Regions from separate parts of the Homo sapiens genome. Here regions 1, 2, 3 and 4 are each linked to region 5. The links are contacts of gene promoters, found by promoter capture Hi-C in blood cells and fetal thymus (Javierre and others, 2016). All regions are on one chromosome and are shown on one strand. The core of a region is centred on a gene start or on the middle of the fragment in contact, and the rest is flanking DNA. Distances in the headings are between cores, read along the strand shown. Region 1 overlaps WASHC5 (WASH complex subunit 5). Region 2 holds the start of TRIB1 (tribbles pseudokinase 1). Region 3 overlaps WASHC5 (WASH complex subunit 5). Region 4 overlaps NSMCE2 (NSE2 SUMO ligase component of SMC5/6 complex). Region 5 holds the start of TATDN1 (TatD DNase domain containing 1).

Region 1 (3,816 bases), core at 612-3,111, 530 kb before region 5:
AGATACACACCTGAAAAAATACCCTAGCACAGTGAAAATGAAGGGATTTTAAAAAAAGATATCCCAGGCAATTGCCAACCAATAAAACAACTGGTGAGAAAACATTAATATTACACAATAGAGAATTTCAAAAAGCAACGTTAATAGGTGTAAAGAGATCTTTATACCTATTAACGTGAATTAACAATCAGGAACACTTACTTAACAATCAGGAACACTTACCTATATATTTGGAAAATCTTGGTTTTTCATTGGAATGGAATTTAAACATGGAGTGGGTATTGCCTTCTATAACTTTAGTATTCAACCCTTTGCCTTGAAGTGAGTAGGAATTTAACAAATTCTGAATGTCTCCTCTTTCAGGTAATTAGTATTTACATGGGGATCACAGTTAATCTAGTAGATGCTTGGGAACCTTACAAAGCTGCAAAAACTGCTTTAAATAATACCCTGGACCTTTCAAATGTCAGAGAACAGGTAGGTTCTAATCTGGGGACATTCTCTGATAACTGCAGGCCTAGTTTATGAAGTAGCAAATAAGCTAAGTAGATTTCCCAAGGAATTTGGAAGATAATCACTTAGATAATTTAATGCAATGATTAATAAAAGGTGAATTTTATAGGTTAGAATAAGATAGGTAATTGTAGGTTTTGTTATATAGTATATGTAAATTGAAGATTAGGATCCCAAGGAAGAGTCAGTACCCTAAGACAAAGAAGCATGGCATATGCCCCAAATGACTTAGTTTACTTTTGCTTAAAGACTATATTCTCATGGCCAGAGTTGGTTGTACCAATAGCTGGAATTAATATGTTTTTATAAGTAGGATGAATGATGAAGATGATAACTGAATATGGATAATATGTCCTGTCACTGTAATTTAAATTTATCATTTGTGTTGTGCTAAATAAGCAACAAGACTCAAGACATTCATCTTAAAGGTTAAACGGTTATATTCTATCTCTTTTGTTCTTACACAAGGCAGAAGGGAACATCCAAGTAAGTAGAGGAATAAAGATAAAATCTTGGGGAGCATACTTGATATTTCTAAATGGTTATGTTCCTCATCCTGGCTCAGTTACTGAGTTTCCTGTGTGGATAAAACAATATTGACTCAAAAAACTTCATCATGTTTTATTCAAGTAAATTGAATTCCATAAATAATGCACAAAATAATTTCAATGTTGGCACATCTCCTAGAAATATATTAGAGAAAGTGGCACTTTTATACTTAGCAACATCAGATCATTAATTTTTCATTGCTAAAATCCCTTTCTAAAATTGCATTTTCTCATTTGTGACATTTTTAAGAGGTTTCTTGATACCACAGATTTCAACTAACTTGATGAGGTTAATGATGTTTAACATTTGACTTCCTTTAAGTAAAGCAGAATGACCAAATTTTCCAAAAAGCTGGTTTGGAAATTCATTTTTGATATACTAAGGTGTATTTTTTGCTAAGCTTTCATAAGCCTGTAGAAGAAGTCTTATATTTTAAGTGTTTCTGCTCTGTTCTGCCTTCTTTGTCAACAGTATTAGCAAGAACAAGCAATTGAACTTCTGTCTTTATTTTCTTTTTCATCTAAGTTAATAATAGAAGAGTTCTGAGGAACCACCTGGTCCAAGTCTCCGTTTGAAATTTGAAGAAACCAATACACAGGGGTTAAGCCCCAAGTCACACCAAAGTTTAATCACAGCCAGAACTAGGATGTAGTCTCAGAATTCTAAGTCCAGTGCTTTTTTCAAATATGTTCAATAAGCCAGTTGTCTTTGAGCCCAATAAGTATAGTCCATATGTTATTCATCTTATATAGAAATGTTATCTTTGAGCCCTAGAACTATAGTCCATATGTCATTCATCTTATATAGAAATTACATAAAAATGTTAATGTTTGAGCCCTATAACTGTAGTCCATATGTCATTCATCTTGTACAGAAATTATATAAAAATGTTAAAGTTTGAGCCCTATAACTGTAGTCCATATGTCATTCATCTTATAGAAATGTTATCTTCGAGCCCTATAACTGTAATCCATATGTCATTCATCCTATATAGAAATGTTACTATTTGTCAGTGAATTCATTTGAATGTGATTTATTTTCAAGATAAATGACTTTTTAAATGTAATTCAAGTTTCTTATTTGTCAAGGCAAGCAGATATGCTACTGTCAGTGAAAGAGTGCATGCTCAAGTGCAGCAATTTCTAAAAGAAGGTTATTTAAGGGAGGAGATGGTTCTGGACAATATCCCAAAGCTTCTGAACTGCCTGAGAGACTGCAATGTTGCCATCCGATGGCTGATGCTTCATACAGCAGACTCAGGTAATGCACAAAAGGGGTGGCCGTTTATATTACTCCACATAAAGACTCTCAGAATCAGGACCTACTTCACGATGCAGAGTGGTTTAGCAGGGAGAGAGGCCTTGGATGAGAATCAAGTTGCTTTTTAAAGTTAGTCATTTTTTGTCAACTTGGATAGGCCACTAGCATACCTGAAAAGCTCTCCCCTGTCAGGTACTGTTAGGTGCTAGGGAATAAGAGGATGTTTATCTCTCATGTTCAAGGAGCTTGTCACTGATCAGAATGGGGAGATCAAATGTAGACATATGAAAAAATAGAACTGCAGATCTGTGGTAGGCAGAATAGTGCCTTCCAGCCCACACCCAGAGATGTTCATGCCCTAGTCCCTGAACCGGTAGATATATTACATGAAAAAGGGGGATTGAGGTTGCCTATTAGCTGACCTTTAAGGAGATGTTTCTGGATTATCCCAGTGGACTCAGTGTAATCATAAGGGTCCTTGCTGTGTGTGGTGGCTCATACTTGTAATCCCATCACTTTGGGAGGCCAAGGCAGGAGGAGAGCTTGAGCCCAGGAGTTCAGAACCAGCCTGGGTAACACAGTGAGATCCCATCTCTACAAAAAGTAAAAAAATTAGCTGGGCATGGTGGCACACACCTGTAGTCCCAGCTACTGGGGAGGCTGAGGTGGGAAGATCACTTGAGCCTGGGAGGTTGCAGCTGCAGTGAGCCAAGATCATGCTACTGCACTGCAGCCTAAGTGACAGAGCAAGACCACGTCTCAAAAAAGAATAATAAAATAAGAGCCCGCCCCCCCCCCCCACTTTTTTTTTTTTTTTAAGACAGGATCTCAAGTTCCCCAGGTTTGAGTGCAGTGGCACAATCTCAGCTCACTCAGACCTCCTGGGCTCAAGCGATACAACTTCCGCAATCCCCGCAAGCAGCTGGGACTACAGGTGTGTGCCATCATGCCTGGCTAAGTTTTTTGTATTTTTTTGTAGAGACAGTGTTTCACTGTGTTGGCCAGGGTGGTCTCAAACTCCTGAGCCCAAGCAGTCTGCCCACCTCGGCCTCCCAAAGTGCTAGGATTATAGGTCTGAGCCACCATGCCCAGCCTGTAAATATAGGGGTCCTTAAATCAGGAAGAGGGAGGTAGAAGTGTCAGAACCAGAGAGATAGCATTGTGACAAAAACCTGACTGGCCATTGCTGGCTTTAAAGATGGAGGGGGCCACAAGCCAAGGAATACAGGCAGCCTTTAGCTGCTGAAAACAAGAAAACAGACTTTTCCCCTAGAATGTCCAGAAGGAGCCCAGCGCAGCCATCACCTTGATTTTAGCCCAGTGAGCCCCATCTCAGATTTGTCACTTCTGGGATGGTGAGAGAATAAATTTGTGTTGTTTTAAGCCACTGAGTTTGTGGTAATTGTTAAAGCAGCAGCGGGAAACTAATTCAAGGTCCAAGGCAGTAAACAGACACCAGGTGTGTCAAACAGACAGTTGGTGTGATTTGAGTTC
Region 2 (3,673 bases), core at 745-3,244, 890 kb before region 5:
CCATCCCATCCCACCACACACACATACATGCTTGTCCCAGAACAGCTCTTAGCCCCAGTCATGGAGAAGAAAAGGTTTTTTTTTCCTCCCTATTAAACTGGGCTTGATCATGCGTCTGAAATTTCATTCGGGTTGGGCAGTAGGTGGCAGCAGCGAGCCCCGGGACGGGGTCGGGGTGTTGGGAGTGTCAGGTGAGTTGCGGAAAACCCAGAAGCGACTTAACTGGGGGGTGATCCTATCTTTCGGGTGAAAAGGAGCGGCCCGAGGGTGCTCTGGGGTGCCTCAAGCAGGGGTGCCACGCTCGCATAAAGTAGACTGTGGGAACGTTCTGCGTCTACCCGCGCAGGAGGAGGACCCGGCGGATCCTGTTTCTAGGAGCTGTGTCTCCTCCTCCTGGATGGGATCCCTATGTTCAAAGGAAAATCGCTGGCTGGAAAATAAAGTGAATCGAAGCGAGGGTTCCTGGCCGGTGTGGGCTTTTCAACATTTCTACTCCGAGCAGATTCCTCCGCCTCGGGTGGATGACTCTGGGACTGCTCCCTTGGGAGGGCGTGTTCTAGTCTCAGCGCGGATTCAATTCGGAATCCCCAAGGCAGGAGCCGGACACAGTCTTCCAGCCCCCTTACCACCTACAACTGAGCCCGGGTGCCGTGCAAGCCCGGCAAGAGAGCTGCCAGCTGCTCCAAGCTCCTAGGAGGCACCCACTAAAGGGCGTCCTTCCAGGACATTGGCGGGGGAGGGGGGGTGGAGAGCGAGGAGAATGAGAGAAGGGGAATGGCATGGCCCTGGAATCCATTTCAATTCCACAACTTATATGGAACGCCACGCGCTACACTGGGCGCTGAGGAAAGGAACAGATAGAGAAAGCCACTGAACACTGCACTTCCTCTAGGCGCCCCCATTATATCACTCCATGGGAAACCCCTCGATCCACAAAAACGTGAACCTGGTCAAATGGCGTCTTATCTGACCCAATCTACTGATCCGCCCTGTGCCCAGCCCAAGCGTTGGCCGGACCCCAAGCACCTTTGCCTACCACCCCGTCCCGCGCCCCCGACCCCAGCCGGGTCCTGGCCCGGGAGCGCCTACCTTGCAGCGCAGCTCGCGTCCAGTGTGGATGCACAGCGCCCGGGACACATGCTCGCGCTCGGCTAGGGGCAGCAGCAGGTAGTCGGCGATGCGGCTGGGCCCCGGCGCGCTCCCGGAGCCTCCGCCGGCCCCCGGAGCGGCAGGCGGGGGCTGCGGGCTGCAGGGCGAGCCGGGGGGGCTGAGGTAGTCCGGGGGGCTGGAGCACTCGGAGAGGCGCGGGCACTTGGCCGCCACAGCCGCCGCGTCGTCGGCGTCCAGCAGGCGTTTGGCCGGGACGCCTCGGGTGGCTGGGAAGAGCAGGGCCGGGCCGCGGGGCTGCGAGGCGCCGCTCATGGCAGAGCGCACCGGACCGACCCGCATCCCGTCCTGGGCCGGGGTGGCCCCGGCTTTTTAAGTCCCGGGATCCGCGCGGGAAGACGCTGCGGGTTTGGTGCCGGCTCCGCGACTTCTTCCAGCCGGCGGGATGGAGTTTGCAGACTGGTCTTGGCTCGGCCCCCACGAGGGGCAAAGCAGGAGCCACTCCCCGGCGCTCGCGTTGCACGCGGGGACCACGCTGGCTGTGCGTCCGGGAGGCGGAGGCCGGCTCGAGTCCCCGGACCCCCGCAGGCAAGGGCTCCCGGAGCCTCGCTGGGGGCGGCCGCCACTATTGTTGCCGAGGCTGCCGATAGTCCGGGAGGCAGAGGCGGCGGCGGCAGCGGTCAGCGATCCCGGGGTCCCGAGCCGCGAGGACAGGATTCAGCAGGCTCGGCGGAGCCACGAAGCAAATGCACTTCCCAAAGCGATGAGTCTCCAGCAAAAGCCGGGGGAACTTTTTCGCGGCGCTCGGGATCCTGAGCGCTCCTGGGCTCCGGGCGTGTATGAGAGCGAGCGAGACGCGCTCAGAGAGAGTGACTGTGAGTGAGTGTGAGCGCTGCACCGATCCCGGCCAGTGCACTCCTCCTTCTCCTTTTCCTCCACCTCCTCCGCCTCCTGGTGACTCACGCTGTATACACACACACTCACAGGCCGGGCTGTGTAAACAGTTGGGAAGCCGGGTTGTGCAATGAGGTGGCTGCGACGACTCCGGCCCCGCCGCCCAGCGAGCAGTCTCCGGAGCGGAGGGAGGAGACTGGGGGAAGGGGAGAGGGAGTAGGAGGTGGGGGGAATGGGGGTGGACTTAGGGCTGGGGATGCTCCGGGCAGCGCGCGCTCGGGCGCAGGTGGTGCGTCCCGGGCCGGCCTGGACGCGCGCACACGCCCCCAGGGCTGGGAGGGGCTGGGCAGGAGGCGGCGCGCGCGCCCTCCCGCAGGCCCCCAGCTCAGCGGAGAAGCCGAAGGAGGGGGCGGAGGAAAAGTTCCCGTGACGTAAGGGCCCGGGGAAGTGGGCGGGAGGGACGGGGCTGCGGGGAGCGAAGCGACCGCTGATTGGTGCGCGCGCCTCATTCACAGTAAGCACAATGGGCTGCGGGCGCGAGGCGGGAGCGCGCACCACGGTTCTCTGCACCCGCCGCTCGCTGCAGCCCCGCGGCGACGCCTTTCGCCCCGGGGATCCCCCCACCGCCCAGCGCCTGGGGAGCTCCGGTTGGAGCCGTGGGCGCCGCCGAGGCCCGGCTGCAGCCGGAGGAAGGAGGGGGATAGGGAGGTGATGAATTCCAGAATCAGTCATTCACCCCCACGCGGTAGTTCCGGGGAAGACCTGTGCGTGGTAGTGGATGTGGCTTTTTTTTTTCCCTTTTCCTGCCCCCTCCCAGCTCTAATCCCCAGCGTCTGTTCGCTTCCACAAATAGAACCTTCTGTTGGAGGAAATAAAAGCAAACACTGGGCCTTCTGCGCTGCCTCCACCTCCACGCCCCCCCAACCCCCCCGCGCCTGCCGCCCGCCCGGATTGCACGGAAATAGCTTCTCCAGGCTCCCGGGCCGCCCCTTCGCGGTGACTCGCAGAAAGAGCTTCCTGAGCCAGGGCCGGTGGGAAACAAAGGATGTGGGGAGCGGGCGGAAGGGGCCCACGTGGCTGCCGCCGGATTCCTACTCCCTCCCCAGCCTCCACACGCGCCGCAGGGTCTAGGGCCTGAGTGCCAACCTGGGTAGGTGGGTAGGCTGGTGGAAGTCATTCTGGCCACTGCCAGAGATACCGCCTGCACCCGGGCAGCCCTGCCTGGTGGTGCGCATGCATTCATTCCGTGTGATTTGGAAGAGCATCAAAGTTGCGCGTGAAACAACTTGGAATCTGTCATTTTTCTTTCTTGAGTGAACCAGGTCAGTTTGGAGTCCCTGGGCACCCAACAATATAACTATTATTAGAGAGCCCTTACTTGTCCTTCTGCTAAATACTTAATTTTCTAAAACCAGGTCGAGCCCCAGGAATAAATCATTTTCCTTATTAATTCTCCATTCATTCAACAAATACTAATTAAGCATCTACCAAGAGCTAAACGCTGGGAATTAGAAGGTGAAAATTAAAATAATAATAATAGCTAACATGAATCGAGGCCTACAATGTGTCGGACACTGTTCTTAGCACTTTATATGTATTACTTCAGTTTTCCAACCACACTATGGGGTTATTTTTTGCCCCATTTCACAGGGAAGAAACTGAAGCCTTAGAA
Region 3 (3,872 bases), core at 1,373-3,872, 510 kb before region 5:
TTATCTCAACCATATTGTGCTCTAAGTCTCATTCTTTTTCCAGCTTCTCTTACTGGTTATTGCTTTTGCAATTTATTTATATTGCTATAGGTCAGATAGTAGGTTACTTTTTACTGCTGCATAGAATTCCACATTTTTCTTAACCATCCAGCTTGGGACAGACACCTGTGCCCCCCATTATCACAACCAATGTCATGATGAACGTCTCTGAGCATATCCCCACTCCAGACCTGTGCAAGAGTTCCTCTGAAATCTACATTCTTTTCAAGTGGCCGCAGACCAATCCATAGTACGAATGCACCGTGGTGTATTTACTATTCCACCACTGATGGATGTTGAGATACAAATGTTCCTTGACTTACAGTGGTGTTACATCCCAATAAACTCATCACAAGTTGGAAATATCAGAAGGCCATTGGGACTTAACGGCTTATATCTTCACCAATACTTGATATTATCCACTTTCTAATTTTGTTCTCCCAAGAGGTATAAAGTATCTCATTGCTTTTTTAATTTGGAATGTTATGGTGAGTAGCGATGGGCCCATTCATATAGTTTATGGTGCTTTTCTTTATTTTTCTATATATCTGACATCAGTAGAATCTCAACATTCCTAATTGCCATATTAATATTTGCATTATTAAAATCAAAGAAAATAGAGGAAATGTACCTAAATGGAACTTTGGTATGTGTTTTCTGGAAGTATGCTAAAGGAAATACCATGGTATTTCCTAGAATATTAATAGAATTTGCTAAACATGCTTTAGGCCTGATCCCAGGTGAATTCAATTGATGTGTAGAGAATGTACATGCATTTTAGTCACTTCTTACACACAGGATGATAAATCCTAGGACTGCAAAGTGACCACTGTAAGAAGGATGTAATAAAACCTCTTACAGGTAATTAACAATAATTATCAAAAGAATTTTACCAAGACTGCTTGGTAAAATACTGATCTTTTCCCACAGTGTTTCAGATTATAACAGCAGAAGGAATACTCTGCTGACCAACTACATTCAACCCAGTAGACTCTCTCTGCTAGTCTACCAATAACAACTAAGGGCTTTTAAAAGTAATCCTGTGGCCCTCGCTGATCTTTAACCTCAGAGTGTTGAGGTTGTGTTTCAAACACTTATAAAAAGTGTAGGTTCAGTTTGGTTGATATTGACTTAAAACAAGTGAGATATACACAGAGATATAAGCATTCATTGTTAGAGGCAGCAAAAAAAAAAAAAAAGAAATACAGGTCGTCTCAAACTTAAAATGATTCAACTTCATATGATACCCATACTGTTTTTCACTTTCAGTATAGTATTCAATAAATTACATGAGATATTCAATACTTTATTATAAAATAGGCTTTGTGTTGGATGATATTGCCCAACTGTAGGCTAATGTAAGTGTTCTGAGCACATTTGAAGTAGGGTAAGCTAAACTATGATGTTTGGTAGATTAGGTATATTCAGTGTATTTTTGACTTCTGATATTTTCAACTTACGACGATTTTATTGGAATGTAACCCCATCTTAAGTCAAGGAGCATCTGTAATCTAAACATCCATCATCAGTAGGGGAATGGTTAAATATTCCATGGTGCATTCGTACTGTGGATTGGTCTAGAGCGATTCAAAAAGAATTTAGTACTGGAAAATCTCCAAGGTGGAAAATGAAAAAAGCAAATTGCAGAAAAACATGTATGTATGTGTGTGTGTGTGTGTGTGTGTGTGTGTGTAGTGTGTGTGATATACATGCATGCAACTATGTGTATATATGTATAATATATGTGTGTGATATACTTGCGTGTCTCTGTACATATACATGTATATGATCCCATTTAGATTTTTGAAATTAAATATATGTGTAAGGATGGATATTTATGTATATAAACGAATGGAGAAAGGTCTGGATGATCCATATGAAAACAGTTACTGTTGTTAACTTCAGGGGAAGGGAATAGAAATGTGAGGAAGGGGTGTGTGAAGATGGCTTTCTCTTAGCTGTGAACACTTCCACAGATTAGTGAGAATGCGGGAAGGATTAGAAGAGCCGCATGCGATCTTTAGATTCACGAAAGCATTGAACTCTTTTAGTAAATCTGTTCTTGTAAGGAATATTTCTTTGAAAGCTTCATGATACTTCTTTGATTCTGTACTCATTGACTATATCTTTATAATTTACCTTTTTATTGTATAATAAAGCACAGATGCTGAAAACTAAAGAAAGAATGATGTAGCCTATTAGGTTATTACAAGGTAAACACAAGTCATTCTGACTACCACTTAAGAAATAGGATTTAGTGAGCCCCACTCCTGAAAGCCCCCTCATGCACCCTGACCTCATCTCAGGCCTCCTGTGTATAGTTTTATTATCCAGTGAAACTATATGTCATTAATTTCCAGACTATAGCTTAGATTTGCCCATTTGAAAAACTATGTTATGTCTTTTAAGTCTTTTTTTTTGAGACAGAGTTTCACTCTTGTTGCCCAGGCTGGAGTACAATGGTGCAGGCTCACCGCAACCTCCTCCTCCCGAGTTCAAGCAGTTCTCCTGCCTCAGCCTCCTGAGTAACTGGGACAACAGGCATGTGCCACCACGCCCGACTAATTTTGTATTTTTAGTAGAGACGGGGTTTCTCCATGTTGGTCAGGTTGGTCTGGAACTCCTGACCTTGGGTGATCCGCCTGCCTCAGCTTTCCAAAGAGCTGGGATTACAGGCGTGAGTCACCACGCCCGGCCCTCCTTCCTTTCTTTCCCTTTAATTCATCTGTTGAAGAACATAGGGCCTTTCACCTTCAGTTGCTCCACAGTCTGGATTTCCCTGATTGAACGATCTTGACGTAGTTTAATGTGTTTCTCTGGCTTTTGTGTTTTTGTAACCCCCTTGCAGTTGTCTTATTTGAAATTTAAATACAATCAAAACTGGATGGAACCCATTAATTGCCTTTATGACCTTTTAAAATAATGGTTCTTTACAAATTAAAAGTAAAAGAAACAAGTCTCAGAGAATTCAAGGGAGTATGTAAAAATCATTTGATGTTTTATGGATCTGATAAGAGACTTTTTAAAGGAATAACAAAACCTTTTCATTATAGGAGAAATAATTAGCAAAGTAAGCTTGTAGAGTTAGATAGCAGATTTGCTTTCTTATTTTATCTCCCTAATTCCAAGAATGCTGAAAGAAAAGATAATTATTCAATTTACAGAGTGGCCCGACCTCAAATCTGAGTTTGCTCATGTGGATATAAGGTGCCTAGAAATAAAATCTAAAGGAAGAACATGCATCTGTAAATTCAGTCATAGGTCCTTCATCCTGCCCCTCCAAAAAGAGGGGCCATTAATGAGAATGTGAGGCCATTTAAAACTCCAAAAAGAGGGGCCATTAATTAGAATGTGAGGCCATTTAAAACTTTCCTTATTCACCGTCTTTGAAATGTCTTGTTGTAAAATTACCATCATGAACTTTGCTGAAATAAACAGAGTCCTAAAAAGGTGACAGGTTTAATAATTCCATCCAAGCTGTGCAAGATCACAGGGACAGGAAAGGAAAAAATTCAAATCATTTAGTGAGGAGGTAGGAAAATGCCCCACTGCAGATTCTGAAAGCCATCTTTCCTCTGGATTTCGTTAGGACTGAATTTTTCGTAACTATCATTTAATACTTTTGATTGGCACTTAGGTGGATCCAAAGCAGTTGCTGGAAGATGGAATAAGGAAAGAGCTTGTGAAGCGCGTTGCCTTTGCCCTGCATAGGGGACTGATATTCAACCCTCGAGCCAAGGTACCCAGTGACCAGAGTGGGCCTGTCCTCTTCTCCGCCCAGCTTGCAGCATGGACTAGAATGCCATTTTTAACCTATCGCGAACAAGACCTTA
Region 4 (3,683 bases), core at 249-2,748, 580 kb before region 5:
TAAGTTGCCTATTAAATTAGAGTCTACAAAAGATGTATGCCTATGGGATACAGAATCAGGCTGCTAGGTCATAAAATGTAAAAATACATTCACAGATTCTTGATTGAGACATACAGATTCATGGTCTCCTCATTTGGCACACATTACTTACTACCATGTAGTTCTCCTGATCTTTGCATGGATACCTATTTGCCTTATCTGCTAACAAAATTATTAGCCTTTTGAGGGCATGAGCCAATAATAATTGGTGACTGATCAACATAAAATGCTAACAATTACCTAACAACAGTGGCAATCAACCAACCTCAAATAAATGTTTGAATCAGTATTGTACAATAAAGGGACAAAATTACCTTGTCCAAAATTACCTGCCCAAAAGAAGAGGAAGCGCAAATCTTTGTCTTGGAGTAAAATCTGCCACTGCTGTCACCACCAGTTTAAAAAGACAGTAACTCTGAATTTTATAAATATTCTCTTTCCCTTCTTCATCTACTGAGCACGCTACCTATAACTTCTCACCATGTATATATAGCTTTTCCAACTAACATTTCTTTCTCCTCACTTATTCAGGCCACTTTCTCCTGGCTCTACTATAATAGTAGTAATAAACACAAAACCAAAAGAGTTAATAAAAGATGCCTTCCAAGTTCTTTTTCAGTAAGTTTAAGAAATACAATGAAATAGTGATGAAAATCACTGTGTAGCATTTTTCAATCAACCTTCGTTATGGCAGATGTGCAGTAGAATGAAGAGGGAAGGGTAAATTCAAAAGTAATAAAGCTTCCTCTCAACTTTAGTCAAGGCATACATGTCTGATTCTACAAGGCCTTCAAAGAAATTCATGCAAGGAATGCGCCTCTTGCGACTTGGTCACATGCAAAAATGAAGCAAGAAGCACATCTGTTTGGAGCTTGCCCCAAATGCCTCAAGTTCTCCTCCAAACTAGGTTCATAACTCCCACCCACAGAGAGAAAGCCAGTGCCTGAGGCAGCACCCAGGGACAAGCAAATTAGCATTTCCAAGGTCAATTGCTGACAGGCCTAATTGTTTATAGCAACTAGAGTACAGTATTCTGGCTGCTGAAGTTAACAGGCTTAACCTCTGGCTTGCCCAATATCGTAAGAAACTAGTTTACCACATCAGCCACAAAATATGAAAGTACTGTAGATGTGGATTCAAATTATCATGACATTTCAAACAGAAGCAAATACTAGCAGGATCCTCAGAAGTAAGTCATTTTAGGCTGACTAAACTATTTTTAAAATTGGCATTTTATGTATTAAAATACCAATCACACCTAGGGTAGAAAAGTGACAAATACAAAAGAAATCAACAGATAATAACTCGTTTTACCGACTGGTTTGATTTGAGTACTCTCCAAAACTTCTAAAATGTTACATGATGATTGATTTAAATATCCTTATGCTTTCTTGCCCTTCTCTGACACAGTCACTGACAAATGAAATAACCTATATCTGTGCTGTTATCTAATACAGTACCCACTTTTCACATGTGGCTACTAAATATATGAAATATGGCTAGTCCAGGTTGACATGTACTGTAAGATTCTAATTTTAGTATCAAAAAAGTCAAAATAATATTAGTAACTTTCATATTGATTATATGTTAAAATATTTTAGACATATTTGTTTAAATAAAACATTTCTAAAAGTAATCTTTCCTCTTTCTTCTTACTTTTTGTAATAAGGACAGCAGAAAATTTTAAATTACACATGTGGCTAACACTTTATATAAATAATGCTTTACATATATAAATAATAATGCTTTACATATATAAATAATGCTTTACATTTATATATAACAAATAATTTCATTTATAAAGTACAGAAAGAAGAGGGAGAAAAAATAGGTCTGGATAATAAAATAATCTTCTCTAGAATAATCAAGTTGGTTTAGCTATGTTAATTGCCAATCTACAAAAAGCTCCTTTCTGCTTACTAGAAGACGTAAAATTTTATGTCTTTTAAAAAGGAATCTGATGTCTCAAAAATAATCCTAAAGTCTGTTCTATCTACTTCTTCCATAAGCTGTCATCTTTGCTTAGCATTAAACTAGTCTCAATTATTTCCAATGATCAAAGAGATATAATAAAGTGCTAGTCTAATTTTAATCTGATTGAGTGACTCCAATTCCATTTTTTCTGTGATGGTCATTTTCAAACCCTGTTAGGCCACTGAAACCTAAACCAAGCTTCAGCTCCAAAGACAAAAAAGCAGAATTAATAGAAAAATTATTCTCAGGATTCTAGAAAAACCCAGATGGTATTCAGATACTATACACGCTGTTTTAAAAACTAAAAAGTGACTCATTTACTGTTTCACAAAGTGACATCCTAATGTGAATGGGAGAGCTTAGCAAACAGGGGAACACAGCAAGTAATTATTTCCACACACGCCATCATGTGGAGAAACCATGCCAACTTTCAGGTTGTTACAGTCGGTGGAGGAAAGAAAATCTGGAGGTGTTGGAATGATTGGAAATTTATGGAGTGAGATTCCACGGTAACAGGAGGTGAGATGAGGTGAACAGCAGCCAAAACTTTCCTCTCAATAGCTCTTAAAAAGGAAACTACTCAACTTTCTGAGTAAGGAAGCCAATAGGAAAGCACATTTCACCCTTTTTGACATTCTAAAACTGCCCCAAATACAACTGGGCCACTGGAGGAAGGACAAAATTACAAGAAATTTATGCGCACAATATGTATAAGTCTTTTAAAAGTGGTTTTAAAATGTAATCGATAACAAAATCAAGATCCATTAACCTGGAAGAATAAATACTTATGATTCATATGAAATGTTTATTTTTATTTTGTGAAAGGATCTGCATCAATCACTGGTAAATGAAACTGATTAACCCACACAACTGAAAAGGAGAGCAGCAAAGGTGAGAGGTATAGTCCTCATTCCTGGAAGAGTTGATCTAAAAATTTAACCTTAATAGTCGTATAGTTCTCTGGTCTAATAGAATCAACACATTTTTACTTTTTATATACATGAGATAATTCAGGCTCCAAATTCCAATAATTTAGTGATTGTATCTTTTATATAATCCTAAACTGTGCAATAAGCACTGTTCAAAAAGCCAATAGCTACTTCATAAGAAGTGTTCTGGTGCCACCTAGTGGTATTTCCTACCAAATGGGAAATACTGACTAGAGAAGGGTTCTCAAAGTGTACCCGCAGACCCTGGGAACTTCTCAGAAATGCACATTCTTAGACTCATTCGAGACCTACTGAAACTCTAGTGGCAAGGTCCAGCAATCTCTGTGTGTGTGTGTTTGTTTGTTTGTTTTTAAGACAGTCTCACTCTGTCACCCAGGCTGGAGTGCGGTGGTGTAATCTCGGCTCACTGCAACCTCTGCCTCCTGGCAGGTTCAAGTGATCCTCCCACCTTAGCCTCCCGGGTTCAAGTGATCCTCCCACCTTAGCCTCCCGAGTAGCTGGGACTAGAGGCGTGTGCCACCATGCCCAGCTAATTTTTGTATTTTTAGTAGAGATGGGGTTTGGGTATGTTGGCCAGGCTGAGGTCACGTGACCTCAGGTGATCCGCCCGCCTCGGCCTCCTAAAGTGCTAAGATTACAGTTGTGACCCTTCTCCATGCCTGGCCCAGCAAGCTCTCTAAAGTGATGCTGATGCACCCTCAAGTTTGAGAACCTCTGGCT
Region 5 (3,850 bases), core at 938-3,437:
ATGGGGAGTGACAGGAAAACAAGTTTGATTTCAAAGAATTTAGATAAATGGAGATTGAGAGAACGGTTGGTGATCTTTTCAATTTTTTTTTTATTATTATTTTTTGAGACAAAGTTTCACTCTTGTCGCCCAGGCTGGAGTGCAATGGGGCTATCTCGGCTCACTGCAGCCTCTGCCTCCCAGGTTCAAGCGGTTCTTCTGCCTCAGCCTCATGAGTAGCTGGGATTACAGGCACCCACCACCACGCCTGGCTAATTTTTGTATTTTTAGTAGAGACGCGGTTTCACATGTAGGCCAGGCTGTTGAACTCCTGGCCTCAGGTGATCCACTCACCTCAGCCTCCCAAAGTACTGGGATTATAGGCGTGAGCCATCATGCCCAGCCAACAGTCGTGATCTAACAAGCAATTCGAACTACAGCTCTAGAGACAAATGAGCGCAGGTGGTGACAGCACTAAATGAGGCTGCCCGAGTACATACAACAACACAGTATGCCTAGGATGGAACCACAGAGAACAGCACAATGAGGGCAAATGGAGGAAGAAATTAAGGCAAGGATTGAGAAAGAATGTCAGATCTAAAAAATGCTGAGCCATAACTGTCATAGTAGCTAGTTTATATCATTTTCCTCTAGAACTATGGACTTTAGTATTCCCAGCTATAGTTCAGTATTGCTTGAATTCTTTTTTTCATGTTTAACTTTTTTTGACACATAATTATTGTACCTATTTATGGGGTACATGTGATATTTTAATACATCCATATAATGTATAATGATCAAATCAGGGTAATTTGGATATTCATCACCTCAAACATTTACCATTTGTGTTGGGATACCTGAATCCCTGATGGCTCAACTTCCTTCATCATCGATTTGTTTACATGTCCATTTTCCCCACTAATCCGTGAGCTGCTGCTGCTCAAAAATGGATTTACTAACATTTATATATTTAGCATAGAGCATAGAATCTGAATTGCAAATTCTGTCAAATCAATAAATAAATAAGGAAAACTCAAGGAAGAAACTAACAATCCCATCACATTGTACTTGGCCATCTTCCTGCCAAATCAAGAGAAGTATGTCAGTGATTTTCTAATAGTCACATATATGCAATCTGGGCTTCGAGGGTACCCTCTGTAATTCTTCCAGGCCTACTCCATTTTCCATAGAGTTTTTTTCCCAGAAGGCCTTCTTATAAAACTACGTTTGGAGAGTCGTAAGACTGGAGTGGAGGCGAGGCACTCACACATCTTGGGTTGTTAGCCCACCCTGCAATGAATTTAGGTGATTAAAATCTACACATTTTAACACTATGTTCTCAGACTAGTCTCAGACGGATAGAGGTCGAAAGAGAATTATGTAAGAGGTGAAAAAGATGTAAAGGTAATGAAAAGGACTAGATGAAGCTAAAAAGAGAAAAGCTAATGGGAGGGGTGGGAGAATGATGATGCTTTGGAGAAAGACCTAAATTTTAACCCTGGCTCAGACACTTAGAAACTCTATCACCTTGCGCAAGTTACCAGCTGTGCTCATCTTCTTATCTGTAAAATAAGCTTAAGATAATTCCTAACTCCTAGAGTTTTGCAGACTGAAGAAAATAATGCATAGTTTATTGCTGTTAATATTGGAAAGGAGAAGATCGTGAAGAAAACGATTGAGCGAGCGCTGGACCCATGACAATTACAATTTTAGGCACTTTCCTTTATTTCACTTAATTTTCCTGCGACCCTCTGCGCTGGTCGTGCGTCCGTTTTACTAAACAAAAAGCTGACGCCCAGACCCGACAAGCAACTCTACAAGGTCTCCCGGCCATAAGTGGCGAAGCCTGGATTTGAACCCGGGTCTACCATAGGATTCTGTGAAGCGAGAGGCCACCTTCCAATTCCGTTCCCGAAGTCCTTGAACCTCCAGGTACCCAGGGGCCTCTCCACCTCCATGGGGCCCCGAGGGTCACCTCCCCGAGTCCTGGGTCCCCATCCCTTACCTCTGGACGCACCACGACTCGAGGTGGCGTAGCGCCCGCTTATAAAGCCGCAACACCTTTTGCTGATGGGTCAGGTAGGGTCCCGACGCCAAGAACGCCATTACGGCGCTGACCTTCCCCGGCCGCGCGGAGAGCCGGGAAACTGCACGCCTGCTGCGGGTGACTGAGCGGGGCCAGCCGGAAGGGCGGAGTTGCCGGCGGCCACTTCCGCTTCCGCTGGGGAGGTCCTCCATGCGCAGTCATGAGTCGCTTCAAGTTTATCGGTAAGAGGAGCGTTTTCCACGCCCTTGGGTCTTTCTGACTTGTCCCGGGCGTCGGTCACCAAGGTCACAGGACCCAGGAATTGCGCCCTCCGGCATTGTAAGGGTTGAAAGGGCCGCTCAGTGGAGGAGGGCGCGGGGAGGTTTCTGGGTGCTGGTAATGCTCTGGTTCTTGATCTAGGTTCTGGATTCACGAGGGTGTATTTATTTGTAAAAATTAACAAGCCGTACAGTTATGATTTTTGTGCTGTTTTCAACATCTGTAATGTATTCAGTTTTTTAAGAAGAAAACTCCAAAAAGGCCAATCACTATGTTTCCATTCATCCCACGTGCACCTCCCGGCCCTTCCCCTCTGCCTTGGCGGAGAGGCTGACCGCTTCTGGGGACCAATTCACTCAAGCATTCATTCGTTCATATCATAGTTAGTGAGCGCCTCAAGTGGGCCTGGCACTGGCCTAGGAACACAGGGCACAAAGCTCCCAGTTGTACTGTCATCACCATCTGGTGGAGAAACTAGAAAACACAAGTAATGGGGAGAAAAACAAACTGTACTTGGCAAGTACAATGATCCAGTCGGCATCAGTAGAACGAGAGGGAGAATGCTGCGGGATTTAAATGGGCATGATCCTCGTTTTGTGGGGTTTCCAGCTACCTGAAGGTGGGAAATGACAGTGATCACACCTCTGCTTTAGCAAGGTAATCCTGATAGCTATTATGTAGGTTTTGTGGGAAATAGGGAGAGGTAGGGAAGCATTTCAAGAGCTTAAACTAGGGTAATGGAAAAGAGAGAGAAATGGAAGAGATGTGTGCAGCATTTAGCAGCTGAGTGTTCATGGCCGGTAGTAGAGAGTGAACAAAGATGACTCAGGGTTTGGAAAAGTACTTAAATATGAAATGGAAGCATGACTAGTTTGGCGGTGAAGAGAGGTACCCAGGTCCATTTGGATTAGGTTAAGTTTGAGATAATTATAGGACATCCAGGTAGAGATATCTGGGCAATTGGGAATGTGGTCTGGCAATCAAGAGATTAGGATTATACATTTAGATCTGAGAGTTATTTAAGCAGTATTTTTTTTTTTCAAAGACGTTGTGCTAAGTCCTGTGGAACTGTAAAATCTAGTGGTGCAGTTTTCAGACTGGAGACCTAAGACCTATGTACTGTACAGTCAAAAGCAAATGCAGGGGAGAATATGTTAAGTGCCAGGAAAAAGGTTTTGAAATTGCTGTGGGAAAGCCTGGAGTAGGGGTTTGGGGAGGGGTTGTCAAATAAGACATTGCCGTGTCTTAGCCTTTCCATCCTAACCTTTGATATAATTGATGAGGGAGATGGAATAAAGAGCCATGAAGTACTCCGTAAAGAAAGGCCACATAACTTTTTAAAAGTGTGTTTATGTTATACAACCAAATTCCTGCCTCAAGTTAATGTCTTAAATCCATCCTCCATGTAGACTCCATTTTGGTGTATCTAAAAATCAAATCAGCTAAATGTTTCTTTTGCTTCAAATCTTTCATTTACGCTCCTCAGGATAGCCTAAATGCTTACACACCATACAAAGCCCTTCTGTGGTCCAGTCCTGCCCACTTTTCTAGCCCATCCCTGGGCTG

Evidence for each region. The method cuts DNA at HindIII sites, captures the fragments that hold promoters and counts their contacts. A CHiCAGO score of 5 or more calls a contact.
Region 1: a fragment that was not itself captured here is called in contact with the fragment with the promoter of TATDN1 in region 5 in 7 of 17 cell types (megakaryocytes, total B cells, naive B cells and 4 more); the score reaches 8.0 in megakaryocytes.
Region 2: the fragment with the promoter of TRIB1 here is called in contact with the fragment with the promoter of TATDN1 in region 5 in 1 of 17 cell types (fetal thymus); the score reaches 5.3 in fetal thymus.
Region 3: a fragment that was not itself captured here is called in contact with the fragment with the promoter of TATDN1 in region 5 in 14 of 17 cell types (erythroblasts, megakaryocytes, naive CD8 T cells and 11 more); the score reaches 11.6 in erythroblasts.
Region 4: a contact is called between a fragment that was not itself captured here and the fragment with the promoter of TATDN1 in region 5, in 1 of 17 cell types (fetal thymus). The highest score is 5.2, in fetal thymus.

What each region holds. Positions count from the first base shown.
Region 1 is chr8:125,071,659-125,075,474 of GRCh38, reverse strand. WASHC5 (WASH complex subunit 5) reads left to right here. Exons shown (of 29, transcript NM_014846.4): 8 at 364-477; 9 at 2,151-2,322. Among named protein-coding and RNA genes, the nearest start is that of WASHC5, 18 kb to the left of the region's middle. The HindIII fragment of the contact is 793 bases long and covers 1,465-2,257 here.
Region 2 is chr8:125,428,679-125,432,351 of GRCh38, reverse strand. TRIB1 (tribbles pseudokinase 1) reads right to left here and starts at 1,994. Exons shown (of 3, transcript NM_025195.4): 1 at 1,090-1,994. The coding sequence starts at 1,449. RefSeq lists enhancers at 232-321, 1,792-1,841 and silencers at 1,132-1,471, 2,202-2,821. The HindIII fragment of the contact is 12,242 bases long and covers 1-3,673 here.
Region 3 is chr8:125,050,470-125,054,341 of GRCh38, reverse strand. WASHC5 (WASH complex subunit 5) reads left to right here. Exons shown (of 29, transcript NM_014846.4): 18 at 3,677-3,778. Among named protein-coding and RNA genes, the nearest start is that of WASHC5-AS1, 12 kb to the right of the region's middle. The HindIII fragment of the contact is 989 bases long and covers 2,128-3,116 here.
Region 4 is chr8:125,118,010-125,121,692 of GRCh38, reverse strand. The region is part of intron 3 of NSMCE2 (NSE2 SUMO ligase component of SMC5/6 complex); the gene reads right to left. Among named protein-coding and RNA genes, the nearest start is that of NSMCE2, 28 kb to the right of the region's middle. The HindIII fragment of the contact is 1,431 bases long and covers 783-2,213 here.
Region 5 is chr8:124,537,422-124,541,271 of GRCh38, reverse strand. TATDN1 (TatD DNase domain containing 1) reads left to right here and starts at 2,187. Exons shown (of 12, transcript NM_032026.4): 1 at 2,187-2,247. The coding sequence starts at 2,226. It overlaps NDUFB9 (NADH:ubiquinone oxidoreductase subunit B9), which reads right to left and starts at 2,149. Exons shown (of 4, transcript NM_005005.3): 1 at 1,985-2,149. The coding sequence starts at 2,085. RefSeq lists an enhancer at 2,257-2,326. The HindIII fragment of the contact is 3,000 bases long and covers 1,556-3,850 here.